Linked DNA regions of Homo sapiens: region 2 is linked to region 1. The links are contacts of gene promoters, found by promoter capture Hi-C in human tissues and cell types (Jung and others, 2019). All regions are on one chromosome and are shown on one strand. Each heading gives the region's core, a stretch centred on a gene start or on the middle of the fragment in contact. The rest is flanking DNA. Distances are from core to core; before and after follow the strand shown.

Region 1 (6,979 bases), core at 1,649-4,148:
AAATGTGCTGTTTCCATTTTGACAGGAATTGGAAATTTCTGTTTTTCTTTTTATTCTTGGGTATTTTATATATATATGTGTGTGTGTGTATATATATATATAAGAGATAAGTCATTTGTCAGATATATGTATTGTGAATCTTTTCCTCTCATTCTGTGGTTTGATTATTCAATGTCTTAATGGTGTCTTTTGTTGAGTAGAAGCCTTTTATTTTGATGAACTCCATTTTATCATTATTTTTCTTTCGATTAATGCTCCCTGGGTCCCATGTAAAAAAAAATCTTTGTCTACCCTAAGTCTGCAAAAATATTTTCCTGTGTTTTCTGTTAAAAGCTTTATCATTTTAGATTTTATGCTTAGGTCTATGATGTATCTTAATTTGCATTTGGCATAAAGTAAGAATCAAAGTGGGCCGAGCACGTTGGCTCACGCCTGTAATCCCAGTCCTTTGGGAGGCTGAGGTGGGCGGATCACGAGGTCAGGAGATCAAGACCATCCTGGCTAACACGGTGAAACCCCATCTCTATTAAAAATACAAAAAATTAGCCGGGCGTGGTGGCGGGCGCCTGTAGTCCCAGCTACTCGGCAGGCTGAGGCAGGAGAATGGCGTGAACCTGGAGGTGGTGCTTGCAGTGAGCGGAGATTGTGCCACTGCACTCCAGCCTGGGTGACAGAGCAAGACTCCGTCTCAAAAAAAAAAAAAAAAAAAAAAAGATTCAAAGTTCGTGTTTCCCTATATATTTATCTGTTTTTTCCAGCACTATTCATTGGGTATACTCATATACATTAAAAAATAAAATTTAACTTTAACTTGACTATATTTTGAATGCATTCTCTCATTATTTAATGCTTTACATAAAAATTAAATCATTAAATTTGCTAAATATGTTAACTTTTTCAATATAACTCATTTCCTATACCTTATTTTATACCCTTCAAATTATTATTTTGAGAATGGGTCCATAAGCTCTACAAGATTACCAAAAGTGTTCATGTCATAATGCATGCTAAGAAGCCTCAGTGAGGTGGAAAGAAGGACACTAAACTTTAGAACATAGAGAACTAGGTAAATACCTGTTTGCTGCTTCCTAGCTCTGTAATCTTGAACATATCACTCAACCTTCATTCATATTCCACACTTCCACAGATTCAGTAAATATCTATTGAGCACTGACCACCAGCCTCTGTTAAATCTTGTGAATTTAATACAGACAGACAATCTTTCCTGTACAGAGTTTACAGCTGAGTCGGGGAGGCAGATGAGTCCACAGGCCATTATACAACACCGTGGTAAGTGCTTTGATAGTGGAAGGACAGAGTGCTTTAGGAGCTCAGAGGTGGGTCTCCCAACCTAGATTTGTGACATCAGGAAATATTTCGAGATAGGGACACTAAAGTGACTCCTGAGGGATAAATGGACATTAGCCCAGCAAAGAGGAGAAGCATGATCCAGGCAGGGGGCTGAACTCTTAAGAGACATGGCATGTTTTGTTTTGTTGTGTTCTGTTTTTGAGATGGAGTCTGGCTCTGTCGCCCAGGCTGGAGTGCAGTGGTGCAATCTCTGCTCACTGCAACCTCTGCTTCCCAGGTTCAAGCGATTTTCCTGACTTACCCTACTGAGTAGCTGGGACTATAGGTGCGCACCACCACACCCAGCTACTTTTTTTGTATCTTCAGTAGAGACGGGATTTCACCATGTTGGCCAGGCTGGTCTCGAACTCCTGACCTCAGGTGATCCATCCGCCTCAGCCTCCCCACGTGCTGGGATTACAGGTGTGAGCCACCGCGCCCGGCGGAGACACGGCATATTTGATAAACTGAGAAGAGTCAGCATGGGGAGAACTAAGGGATAGCAGTACAAGGCATACCTGAAGAAGGGGTCATGCTGGAGGGTCTCAGAGGCCATTTTAAGGACATTAGCTTTATTCTAAGAGCAATGGGACATCATTGATGGATTTTAATCATTGTTGGGTTGTGACAGGATCAGGTTTAATTAATCAATTTTAAATTCCCTTCTTTTCACAGGTGTTGAAAATTATAAAAATCACTTTGGTTTTGTGAAGAACGCATTAGAGGGATCACAACTGGAGACAGTCACGGGAGTTTGGAGTTACTGGAGAAATTCTGCCGAGAGGGGGTAAGTGCATGAATTGTGGCAATGGGGATGGGGGTGAATGGATGGATTTGAAAGACAATTAGGAGGTAAGCGCAATTAAGTGTATGAGAAACTTTGGGGTATGAAGAAGAGGGAGATTCCTCAGATTTCTAGCTGGACCAACAGGATGGATGGCAGCGCCCTTCACCAGGAAAAAAGTGAGCTGATGGAAGAACATAAGGTGAAATTTGAATTCATGGGGTTTGAGGTGACTGAGTGAGGATGTCCAACAGACGTTTGGCCATATTGGCCTGAAAATCAGAAGAGAGGTTTGAGATGGAGAGCCAACTGTGCCCATATGGTAAGATGCTACAGGCGGCATTCCTTCTGTCCTCCCGTCCTTCGTTCAAAATCTGTTGAGATGTCCCATAGGCTGGATGTTGGGGATACAGCAGGGAACAAGAACACTGCGTTCGCTCAACCAGTTTACCATCTACCTCTCTGAACTTGTTCTTAGTCTGTAAAATGAAGATAATGATAAGATTAAGTAAGATGAGGTCGTGTGAGGGCACCTAGCACTTACAATTTTTGTATTGGTTTCTCTTCCTCAGAGCCAAAGGAGGAGATAGTTACTTTTGCTTTTGCAGCCTTTTCCGGGCGGCTTTTCCGCGCAGGCGCCCCTGGACCTCCCAGGTTGAGAGGTGGAGCGGGCCAAACCTCAGCTGCCTTTCCCGGGGCCGGGACCCGGCCGGGGGAGGACCGAGGCGCGGCGCTGTCCGTGACGTCATCAGGCTGCGCTGCCCGCAGTACTGGACCCGAGCGCGACGGTGCGGCTGGCGGACCCGGGCTGGCTTGTGGGGAAACGAAACTGAGGGAGGAGGCGGCGGCTCTGGCAGCGGCGGCGACAGTGTCGGCCTGACCCCCCCTCCGCTCCCCGGCAGCTCGCTCTCTCCCCTCAGCGTGAGTGCCGACGCGCGGCCCGGGGGGAGCAAGCGGGCGGGCGCGCGGGCTCAGCATCCTTCTCCCCTCCACCGCCGCCTGGGCCCCCCGCCCGCGGTTATGGGTCTCCTCGCCTTCTGGCCCCTTATGTCTTCCCTCCTCCTCCCACCCCCAACGCCGGCTCCCTGGAGCCCGAGCTGCCGCTGACACACGTCTCTGCGCACACATTCACACGCTCATGTTATCTTCAAATGAAGGGACTGGCCGGGAGACATGGGAGCTTATCTCTTCTCTCTGTGATTAGGGGTGGCAGTGCCAAACCGAGGCCCAGGGAGAGAAGACTGCAGAGGGGATTTGAACCCCTTCTGTGCGGAAGCAGCAGGTAGAACCAGGCCGCTTGCCTTCCGCTTAGAAGTTCCCTGCCAGAGCATTCTGCTGGCATGTGTGGGTCACTTGAGCAGGGCACTGGTTAGCTGTGTGGCCTTCACCTCTGTGGCCGCAGTCTTTTCCCGTGGAAGATGATAGGGTTGGATGAGATGATTTGGAAGGCCCAAATCTAAGGTGATGTGGTTTGGGGAGGAGCATCCGCCTCTCCTGCCTTTCACACAGCTGTTCAACAGTCCGCTTTGAGTTTGCTGTACTTCCAGTCTCCCCCCGAGTCACTTAAGAATTAAAAGCTTTTAGCGCTTGCAATGGCTAGAAGCAAGCTCTGTGATGAGCCTTCCTTTATCTCACCCTGGGGGCCTTTTGGGGGTATTTAAGACTACGGCTTAAAGTGAAATGTGGCTTAGCTTGGTCTTGCTTTCTGTTTGCTCAGTGTCTCCGGTTCTTCCCTGGGACAGCCCCTGCCTGTATCTAGTAAGAGGCTGCTTTCTCAGGAAGGTGGCGGTTGTGCATTGGGTTGATTGGCTCTTCCTTGAGTTGGAGAGAACTGAAACATGTGATCCAGGGTTTTACGAGGTTGGGAGCATCAGTGACACTTTTGGGTTTCAATACTTTCTTGCTGTACCTCGCCTTCCCTAAGGATTGTTTCCCAGCTTGTCGCCCACCCTGTATTGAGTCCTCTTTTCTGAGTTCTCTACAGCCAATCAGTTGTGTGTAAGCCACACTGTATTCACTACTTCTCTTGCTTGCTCTTTAACTTGATAATTCGTTAAGATTTCAGGGTTTCATAATCACTTCATTCCATCTTATTTTTTTCTCGTGCTTATCTCTCATGTACCTAACCATGGGGATGGATGATTGATGGTGGCATGGTGCCTGTTTCTTTCTTTTTTGTTTTTTTGAGACGGAGTCTTGCTCTGTCGCCCAGGGTGGAGTGCAGTGGTGTGATCTCGGCTCACTGCAACCTCCGCCTCAGCAATTCAAGCGGTTCTCCTGAGTAGCTGGGACTACAGGCATGTGCCACCACCCGGCTAATTTTTGTGTTTTTTTTACTAGAGATGGGGTTTCACCATGTTGGCCAGGCTGGTCTTGAACTCCTGACCTCAGGTGATCCGCCCACCTCTTTCTCCCAAAGTGCTGGGATTACAGGCGTGAGCCACCGCGCCCAGCTGGTTTCCACTCTTTTTTGTGGAGGTGGATTTCTGTCCTTAAAATTGTTGTTTTCGTAACTGAGTTCTGTGGTATAGCTACCTCCAGTCCCAATAACTTTCCCGCTCTTGTGTTTCCTCGGTCTTAAGTCATTTCACTGCTTCCATTCCCTACTCTGCTTAAAAACTTTCCCAATTCTTTCATGTTTTCAAACATTATGAAGTAAACCAAAACCAGTATTTTTATGATATTATGTAATTTCTTAATTGTTTTGGTAAAATAATGCTGATGAAACAGTCATTCTGGGATGGTCCCTTCACCTTGGGAATATTGGTTAATATTTATTCGGTTTTATAGTTCATTTTCAGTGTACATTGTCATGCATGGCCAATATTGCATCAAAAGTGTAGAATAACTACAGGTACCAAGGCTTTATCCCCCAGTGGCTTGTGGAGTTGATCCATGACTTTCTGTTATCTGACACCAGTGGCCCAGGGCTCTCTCAGTCTGTGAGCACCACATTTTCCAGTAAAACAGCTATTATTGAAAACCAACACTTGTCTAGCATCCTTCCTAGACCTCATTCTGAGGAAGAGGCTATTCAAGTGCTGGCACTGGAAGATGTGTAGAATTGCCAAATCTCATCCCATTGATGATTTACACTTTGGAATCCCTGCTGTGATCCCAGTGGCTGTGACCCAAGGGCAGCTGACTGACTGGATTTATGGTTACAGTTAACGATGAAGAGGAGAACTGACCCAGAATGCACTGCCCCCATCAAGAAACAGAAAAAAAGAGTTGCAGAGCTTGCCCTGAGCCTCAGCTCCACGTCCGATGATGAACCTCCCTCCTCTGTCAGTCATGGAGCAAAAGGTACGTGTGCTTGTGTGGTCTGAGGCCACTGGCCATCTGGTTATTTGAACACACAGTGTCTAATCTAGGTGGAGCAGACTATAGTCCACTGCCCCTTGGTCCCTTGAGGAAAATTAGGAATACTCTACAGAGAGATGTTGGCTATAGACTCTTTTCCCTTCTGCCATTCTCCTACTAAGAGTGGGGAAACTTGTTTTAAATAAAAAATGGTAATTTTTCCAGAAGTTGCTTTCTGTTGGTTGTCCTTCAGTAGGTGGCACTCTTGCTGCCTTAAACCAGTTAGAAGTAGTGGTGAGCATTGAGTGCTGTGTGCCCTTAATAGCTGTTAATTATCCTGGGGCTCTTTTGTAAGGGAGGGCCTCTTTGCTGCGGCCGTCGAGCCTAATTTTCACTTTTTTTGCATGCATACCGTTTTCTCAATTCCTTCAGCGGTTGTGGTCAGAAGTATCCAACTACTGGAGCATTGCTGCGTTCACTGTTTGCATTAAGCGTCGAAGATTTCACTAATCTGGTTGAAACTAGCATTTTGCTTTGCCTGTCTTTTAGGGTTATTCACAGTTTCCATAGATGCTTTCTGAGGAATGGTAAAATGTCTGGGAGCTTGCCTCAAATACCTCAAGGTAAATTTGCATTTACCTTGACTTGCCAGCTGTATTAGTTTCTTAGGGCTACTGTAACAAATTACTACAAACTGGGTGACCCAAAACAACAGACATTTATTCTCTCACAGCTCTGGAGGCTAGTAGTCCAAAATCAAAGTGTTGGTGGGGCCATGTTCCCTCAAAGGCTCTTGGGAAGACCTTCCTTACCACTTCTAGCTTCTGCTGGCTGCTAGCATTCCTTGGTGTTCCTTGGCTTGTGGTAGCATAACTCCAATCTCTGCCTCTACCTTTCCTCTGTGTGTGTCTGTATCCAAATTTCCCTCTTCTTATAAGGACATCGGTCATTGGATAGGGCCCACTGTAATCTAGTATTACATTTGATGTAATCTGGAAAGACCCTATTTCCAAATTAGGTCACATTTACAGGCTTTGGGGAGGATACCATATTCAACCCAGCACACCAGCAGGCTTGCATATTGGATCCTCTGTTGGATCACTGGGAAACTGGAATGAAATTTCATAACAGATTGGTGACTGAAAGGGTGTGAAGCACCCTTTGAAGGTAGTAGGAAATACAGTTTATTCACAAGTGATAAGCTTATTGAAGGGCAGTTACTCATCAGCTGCTACTGAGAAGCTGGTCCAGAGAGAAGCTTGACAGGTGGTACAGCGAATGGAGCATCGGTGTCGCTGTAGTCCAGGCTAGATAAGAGAGTCAGTTGCAGCTTTGTATGTGGAGGTGTTCACGCCTTTAAAGCAAGCTTGTCCAACCTGTGGCCCAGGATTGCTTTGAATGGGACCCAACATAAATTTGTAAACTTTCTTAAAACATTATGAGATTTTTGGGGGATTTTTTTTTTTTTTTTAAAGCTCATCAGCTGGCCAGGCGCGGTGGCTCACAGTTGTAATCCCGGCACTTTGGGAGGCTAAGGTGGGC
Region 2 (6,979 bases), core at 2,125-4,624, 490 kb after region 1:
TCCAAAGTGTGGTTAACTGTAGTGCTATAAAACCAGGTATGCCAGCCGGGCACGGTGGCTCATGCCTGTAATCCCAGCACTTTGAGAGGCCAAGGCAGGCAGATCACGAGGTCAGGAGATCAAGACCATGCAGGCTAACACGGTGAAACGCTGTCTCTACTAAAAATAAAAAAAAATTAGCTGGGCGTGGTGGCACGTGCCTGTAATCCCAGCTACTCAGGAGGCTGAGGCAGGAGAATTGCTTGAACCCTGGAGGCAGAGGTTGCAGTGAGCTGAGATTGCGCCACTGTACTCTAGCCTGGTGACAGAGCAAGACTCTGTCTCGAAAAAAGAAAAAAGTAAGGTATGCCATGTATAATTACAGTGGTCTCCCTTTATCCATGTTTTCACATTTCGCAGTTTCTGGTACCTGCAGTCAACCATGTTGTGAAAGTATTAAATGGAAAGCTCCTGAAATAAACATAAGTTTTAAGTTGCACACCATTCTGAATAGCATCATGACATCTCATGCTGTTCTGCTCTGTCCTGCCCTGGTGGCGAATCATCCCCTTCTCCAGTATAACCACACTATGTATACACTACCTGCCTGTTAGTAGCTGTCCTGGTGATCAGGTAGACTGTCATGGTATCTGTCATGGTATCTCAGTGCTTGTGTTTAAGTAATCCTATTTTACTTAATAATGGCCCCAAAGCACAAACATAGTGATGCTGACATAGTGTTAAAATTGTTCTGTTAATTATTGTTGTTAATCTTTTACTGTGTCGGATTTATAAATTTGGAAATCTGTTTGTATAGGAAGAACACAGTATATATAGAGTTCAGTACTATCCATGATTTCAGGCTTCTGCTGGGAGTCTTGAAATGTATCCCTCAAGGATAATGGGGGACTACTGTATATCATTGTGTGATCATAGATTTATAGAATGTTAGCGGTCATTGGTCTCAGTAGCTCACTTTATTTTAATGGGTGACAAAACCCAATTGCGACGTCCCACCTTCAAGCTAAGCCCTTTCTTCCCAAGTCATTGCTCTTAACACTACCCCTGTAGCAACTGTTTTTACCCTGAAGACAGAATTATAAAGTTTACAACAGTGGGAGGAAATATGTGTTGGACATTAGAAATTTATGATTACAAAGGCAATGAAATATGATACACAAAAAGCAATAGAATCTCTGGTGATTGTAGAACAGGAATACTTTAAGTCTTTTTGAGGCAGAGATAGAAAAGATGTACTCTTGAGTTCCCTTCTGTTTTTTTGCTGGGGGTTATAACCAGATAATTTTCTCTTGCAAACTCTGGTCAATCTTGTATTTTGTGATGAATAATTAAAATAGGAAATGAATATTTTGAACTTTGAGCTTCACTTGTCAGTGAGCATTGGACTGGGAATAAGGAAAGCAGTTTATTTTCTGCTGTCACCTTTCAACCATTCCTTATCTAGTTTCGTCGTAGGTGTGGTATCCTGACTCTTTCACAAACTCCCTGAGAATGGCCTAGTAGATTGATGTAAGGTATAAAATGTTTGGAATTTGAACAAATGAAAGATGTTGAAGTACAAATGACATTTAAAAAATATGTCAGTGACATTATGTATACATTAAAATTTTTCTTATATGTGCATATTGCTAGATATTGCTTTCTCCTCCTCCATATTTTGTAGATGTTCTGTCGGTATTTTTATCTTACCTGAATGACATGAACAGAAATGTTGCATCGTGTAGAAGTCTTTTTTTGTTTTGTTTTGTTTTTGTTTTTTTGATATGGAGTCTCGCTCTGTTGCCCAGGCTGGAGTGCAGTGGTGTGATCTCGGCTCACTGCAAGCTCTGCCTCACGGGTTCACGTCATTCTCTTGCCTCAGCCTCGCAAGTAGCTGGGACTACAGGCACCCACCACCACGCTGGCTAATTTTTTGTATTTTTAGTAGAGATGGGGTTTCACCATATTAGCCAGGATGGTCTCGATCTCCTGACCTTGTGATCCACCTGCCTCAGCCTCCCAAAGTGCGAGGATTACAGGCGTGAGCCACTGCGCCTGGCCTGTGTAGATGTCTTTTCCTGGATATCCTCCAGCTTCTAGAAGTACCTTGTGCTTTTCTTTCTCAGCCATACAGCTTCCTTGCTAGCCTGTTTAACCTTGTAGTTTGAACCCTTGTAACTCTATTATCTCCCAGGTTTATGTCTCATTTTCTGACAAGGAAAGATCTAATAATAATACTTTAGGTTACTTTTCATCTTTCATTAAAATTATCATGCCTTTGATTTAATTTACCATAAATATGGATAAATCAGAGCCTCTCTCTGTAAGCCTGAATTATCTTAATGAGAGTGGATGAGTGGATGAAGCAAAAATATTTGGCACTTGGGTAGGACAGGTGAATATTTAATTATTTTGACACACTTTGGGAAAAAGTACTCTGAGCTCCATAAATGTTGTTGTTCTCCCAACCCCACCTATTTTCAAAAGCAACATTGTTAGCCAGAAGAAAAATAAGGTCAGATAATACCTTATTGTTATCTCTCTTAAATTTGTCATTCTCAGTTTAATTCTCAGATACTTGCTCTTGTACTAGATGGTTGGGAAGTTTTCTGTGTGTTTTCAAAACATGAAAAATGCCTTTTTTTTTTTTTTTTTTTTGAGACGGAGTCTCGCTCTGTTGCCCAGGCTGGAGTGCAGTGGCGCAATCTTGGCTCACTGCAACCTCCGACTCTCTGGTTCAGGTGATTCTCCTGCCTCAGCCTCCCGAGTAGCTGGGATTACAGGCATGCGCTACCACGCCCAGCTAATTTTTGTATTTTTAGTAGAGACGGGGTTTCACCATGTTGGCCAGGGTGGTCTGAATCTCCTCACCTCATGATCTGCCTTGGCCTCCCAAAGTGCTGGGATTACAGGCGTGAGCCACCGCGCCGGGCTGAGAGATCTTATATATATGTTCACCCATTTTGTCCTGATGGTAACTGCACATGCATATTTAAAGGTCATGGATTATATAAAATTATATGTAATTTGTATATGCTCGTAATATAAATTTTAAAATGTTACTTTTCCTAGTTATGAACAGATTTAAATTCTCCATGTCTGCACAGACATCAGACTTCAATATTTACCAAATTATTATTTAATATTTACCAAGCCGTTTTAAAAGTTATTGACCATGGTTTTTCAGAGAATATCACATTCATTTTTTTTTTTAGCCTCCAAGTTGTTTGAGATAAAGCACTTTAAAATCTGTAAATGTTGCAGTCACTGGAAAATTTATCCCAAGCCACAAGAATTCATTCATGTAACATTAGGAGAGTTGTCATCATCTTGACGTCATTTATGATCTTCCTCACATTTCAAGGCTGTTACTGCATTGCTTTCTAGAAGATCTTCAGAGGCCTTCTTCAATGGCAGCTACTATTTGTAATCACTCTCCAGAAATAAGTATTAAATCTGTGTTTAAAACCGAATCCTCCCCTTTTTATAAAACTAGTTTGTTGTTGTAACCATGACAAAGTATCCAATATTAGAGTTGGCTTGACATCCTTCCATACCTCAGTGTCCCTGACTAGTGATGAGAACTTCACTGTCTCAGCCATTTCACAGACTAACTGGAGAGATGCCTCTGGGACTGGGACTCTACATTCCTCTTTTGAAATCCCAAACACCATTCCTTTCCCTGGGCATGACTGCATACTTGGATTTCTCTTTCTCACTTCCAGGTTTTTTTTGAAGCTTTTTTTTTTTTTTTTTTTTTGGCCCTTGTTAGTATTTAGTATAAAATAATTGGTGTCTGCCTCAAAAGTAAGGATTTAATTGTAAAGCAATTCCTTCTTTCTGAAAGATAACTTTAGGGAAGAAAACCTTATCTTATGTTTGGGGATATATAGTGGGACAGTTGCAATCATTGTATATATTGGGTGTGTTAGAGTTGATAGCCTCATTAAGTTTCTCTTATGTGGAAAAATTATTTGGCATTTTAATTCACTTCATTGTTTTTTTTTTTCTCCTTTTCTACAGGGGCTTTCATTCATATATTTTAATTTTTCTTGTTCTTCTTTTGACTAGTTTATTGATGGCCATGCCTCATCTTGTCTGTAATTGTTAGATGGTGCTGGACTAAACTTTCAGTAATATATACAGGGCCACAGATGATAATGGGACTAGTTTTACATCTATACACTATAACTTTTAGTGCAAGTACTTGAAACACACAAAAATCGAGGCATTTTGCTCTGCTGTCCTTGAATTTGGGCATAAAATGCTAAAACCACTGCTAATTACAGTAACCCACTTGGAATCTAAATTGTTACATTAAAATTAGTTTTTAAAGTGAGCAGGATCCATATTGCTACATTATAGAAACTAATACCCTTATTAACAGCTCCATCTTCTCCATTGTAATATTTCCTTAAAAAGAAAATTTGCAGACATGGTCTGAATGATTTAGAGTGATGTGTAACAGTTTGGACAGGCTGGTTGCACCCCTGAAAGCCTCCTTTGTCATTGCCAGCTAGGATGTCATCTGTTTGAACTGGTCTTTTTCGTGTTTGCCTAGGGTGAGTAGAGAGTGGTGATTTAGTAGAGCTGTTGGCTGCTTCCTGGCTGCTGTAGGAAGTTAGTTTTTCTGGCTATATGTGTATGAGGCGGGAAGCAGATTGTTAGGAGTCTTTAATATTCTAATTTTACCTCTGAGAAAACTGGGATGACTTAGAGTGTAGTAGGTATTGTGGTTTGTTTTTCCCTTCCTTTCCTTTACCACCCCACTCCTCGCCGCCTTCTCCTTCTCTTTGTCCTCTTACCCATCCCTCCCCTTTCCTCCTTTGTCTGGATTATTAGAAGAGGTTGAATTCAGAAATGTGACTAATTTTTACAGATTGTGTTTTTACAGACTAGTTTTTAGAAATGTGACAGTTTTTACAGATTGACTCCCTTCACTGAAGAAGGAACTTTCTTTGTAGTCTAGATTTTTTTAGTTTTATGATACATGTCTAGTGTAGAGAAGTTCAGGGACCATAGGACTGGAAGAGCTTGGTATACTTACGTGCTGGTACTGTTTTTTTTTATACTTTTCTCTATTTTTCTTGTGCCCTAGGTTTTTCCTTCCAGTTGGGTTAAAAAAAAAAAGTTGTTGAGGAACATTGATATGGTGAAAGAGTTGTTTTTTATTTCCATATTTATATTAAAATAGTTTTTTGCATGTGTATGTTTCTCTGAGTGGGGAGAGATAGTAGTCTTGTGTATGTGTCAGGAAAATATTATAAGATGTTTCCAGAATTCCCAGAAATTAGGACTGTTACTAGAATTCCCCAAGATGAATTAGCATGAAGGCTAATTTGTCATTAAAACATTGATATCCTTCAAAATTGAAAAAAAAATTTAGAAGAAACATTTAACAACATAATCATTTCTGCCATCAAGTAAAAATTAAAAAGTACAACAGTGTTGGCCAGGTGCAGTGGCTCATACCTGTAATCGCAGCACTTTGGGTGGCTGAGGCAGGTAGATTGCTTGAGCTCACTAGTCAGAGACCTGCCTGGGCAACATGGCAAAACCCCATCTCTGCAAAAAAAAAAAAAAAACAAACCCACACAAAAATTAGCTGAGTGTGGTGGCATGTACCTGTAGTCCCAGTTACTTTGGAGGCTAAGGTGGGAGGATGGCTTGTGCCCAGGAGGCGGAGGTCACAGTGAGCCGAGATCACACCACTGCACTCCAGCCTGGGCAATAGAGCCAGGCCTTGTCTCATAAATGAAATATAAAATATAAAATAAAATAAAATAAAACGTTGTTGGCAAAGATGTATTCAAAATAGTATGTAGAACTTACCTGGAAGGTAATTTTGCAATATTTACCAAAATATACTTTTTCATCTAGTAAGGTCTCCTTCTCAGAATCAGTCTTAAAGCCATTCAAATACAGATTTATGATTAAAGATTTAAGTCCAAAAATGCTCATTATAGCAATATTTATAATAGGAAAAATTGGGGAAAAACAATTATACATCCAACAGTAGTAAGAGTGTGACTACATTATAGTATTAGTATGTAATGGATTGTCACAGAGCAACACACATGTTTTTGAAGAATATTTAAGGCGTGATAAATATTAAATGTAAATGTAAATTGAAAAAATGATATCTGTAGATTTTCATTATGCATTTCTTTATGAAATTTTTGTATATACACAAAAGAAAATAGTCATGCATTGCTTCATGACGGGGACATATTCTGAGAAATGTGCTGTTAGTCGGTTTCATTGTGGAAACAAATGTTGAACATCATAGAGTGTCCTTACACAAACCTAGGTGGTATAGCCTACTCCACACCTACACTATATGGTATAGCCTGTTGCTCCTAGGCTACAAACCTGTAGAACATGTTACTATATTGAATACTGTAGGCAGTTGTATTTGTGTATCTAAACATAGAAAAGGTGTGGTAAAAATGTGGCATGAAAGATAAAAAAGTGTACACCTGTCCCAGGCACTTACCATGAATGGAGCTTACAAGACTGGAAATTGCTCTGGGTGAGTCAGTGAATGAGTAGTGAGTGAATGTGAGGGTCCTAGGACATTATGTTACTGTGGATGTTATAAGCACTGTACACTTAGGCTACACTAAGTTTATTTTTAAAATTTTCTTTAATAATAAATTAGCTTTAGCTTACTATAGCTTTTTTACCTTATAAACTTTAAAAAAATTTTAAACTGATGACTCTTTTGTAATCACACTTAGCTTAAAACACAAACACATTGTATAGTTACACAGAAATATTTTCATTATATCCTTATTCTATAAGTTTTCTTTATTGATTGATTGACAGAGTCTCACTCTGTTGCCTAGGCTGGACTCAAAAGTCCTGGGCTTAAGTGATCCTTCCTTCTCAGCATCCTGAGTAGCTGGGACTACAGGTGCATGCCACCAGGCCTGGCACCTTTATTTAAAAAATATTTTATTTTTTGCTTTTAAAGCTTTTTTGTTAGGCCCCAGCACAC

What was found. Contacts are between HindIII fragments. The study calls those that stand out against the background at their distance.
Region 2: a contact is called between a fragment that was not itself captured here and the fragment with the promoter of CMTR1 in region 1, in 1 of the 25 tissues and cell types used here (spleen).

What each region holds. Positions count from the first base shown.
Region 1 is chr6:37,430,323-37,437,301 of GRCh38, forward strand. CMTR1 (cap methyltransferase 1) reads left to right here and starts at 2,899. Exons shown (of 24, transcript NM_015050.3): 1 at 2,899-3,055; 2 at 5,302-5,440. The coding sequence starts at 5,308. LOC107986531 (a long non-coding RNA gene) reads right to left here and starts at 2,901. Exons shown (of 2, transcript NR_171666.1): 1 at 2,729-2,901; 2 at 1,906-2,613. RefSeq lists enhancers at 2,581-3,082, 2,775-3,054 and a silencer at 3,055-3,244. The HindIII fragment of the contact is 6,430 bases long and covers 1-5,175 here.
Region 2 is chr6:37,916,335-37,923,313 of GRCh38, forward strand. The region is part of intron 1 of ZFAND3 (zinc finger AN1-type containing 3); the gene reads left to right. Among named protein-coding and RNA genes, the nearest start is that of ZFAND3, 100 kb to the left of the region's middle. The HindIII fragment of the contact is 3,924 bases long and covers 1,413-5,336 here.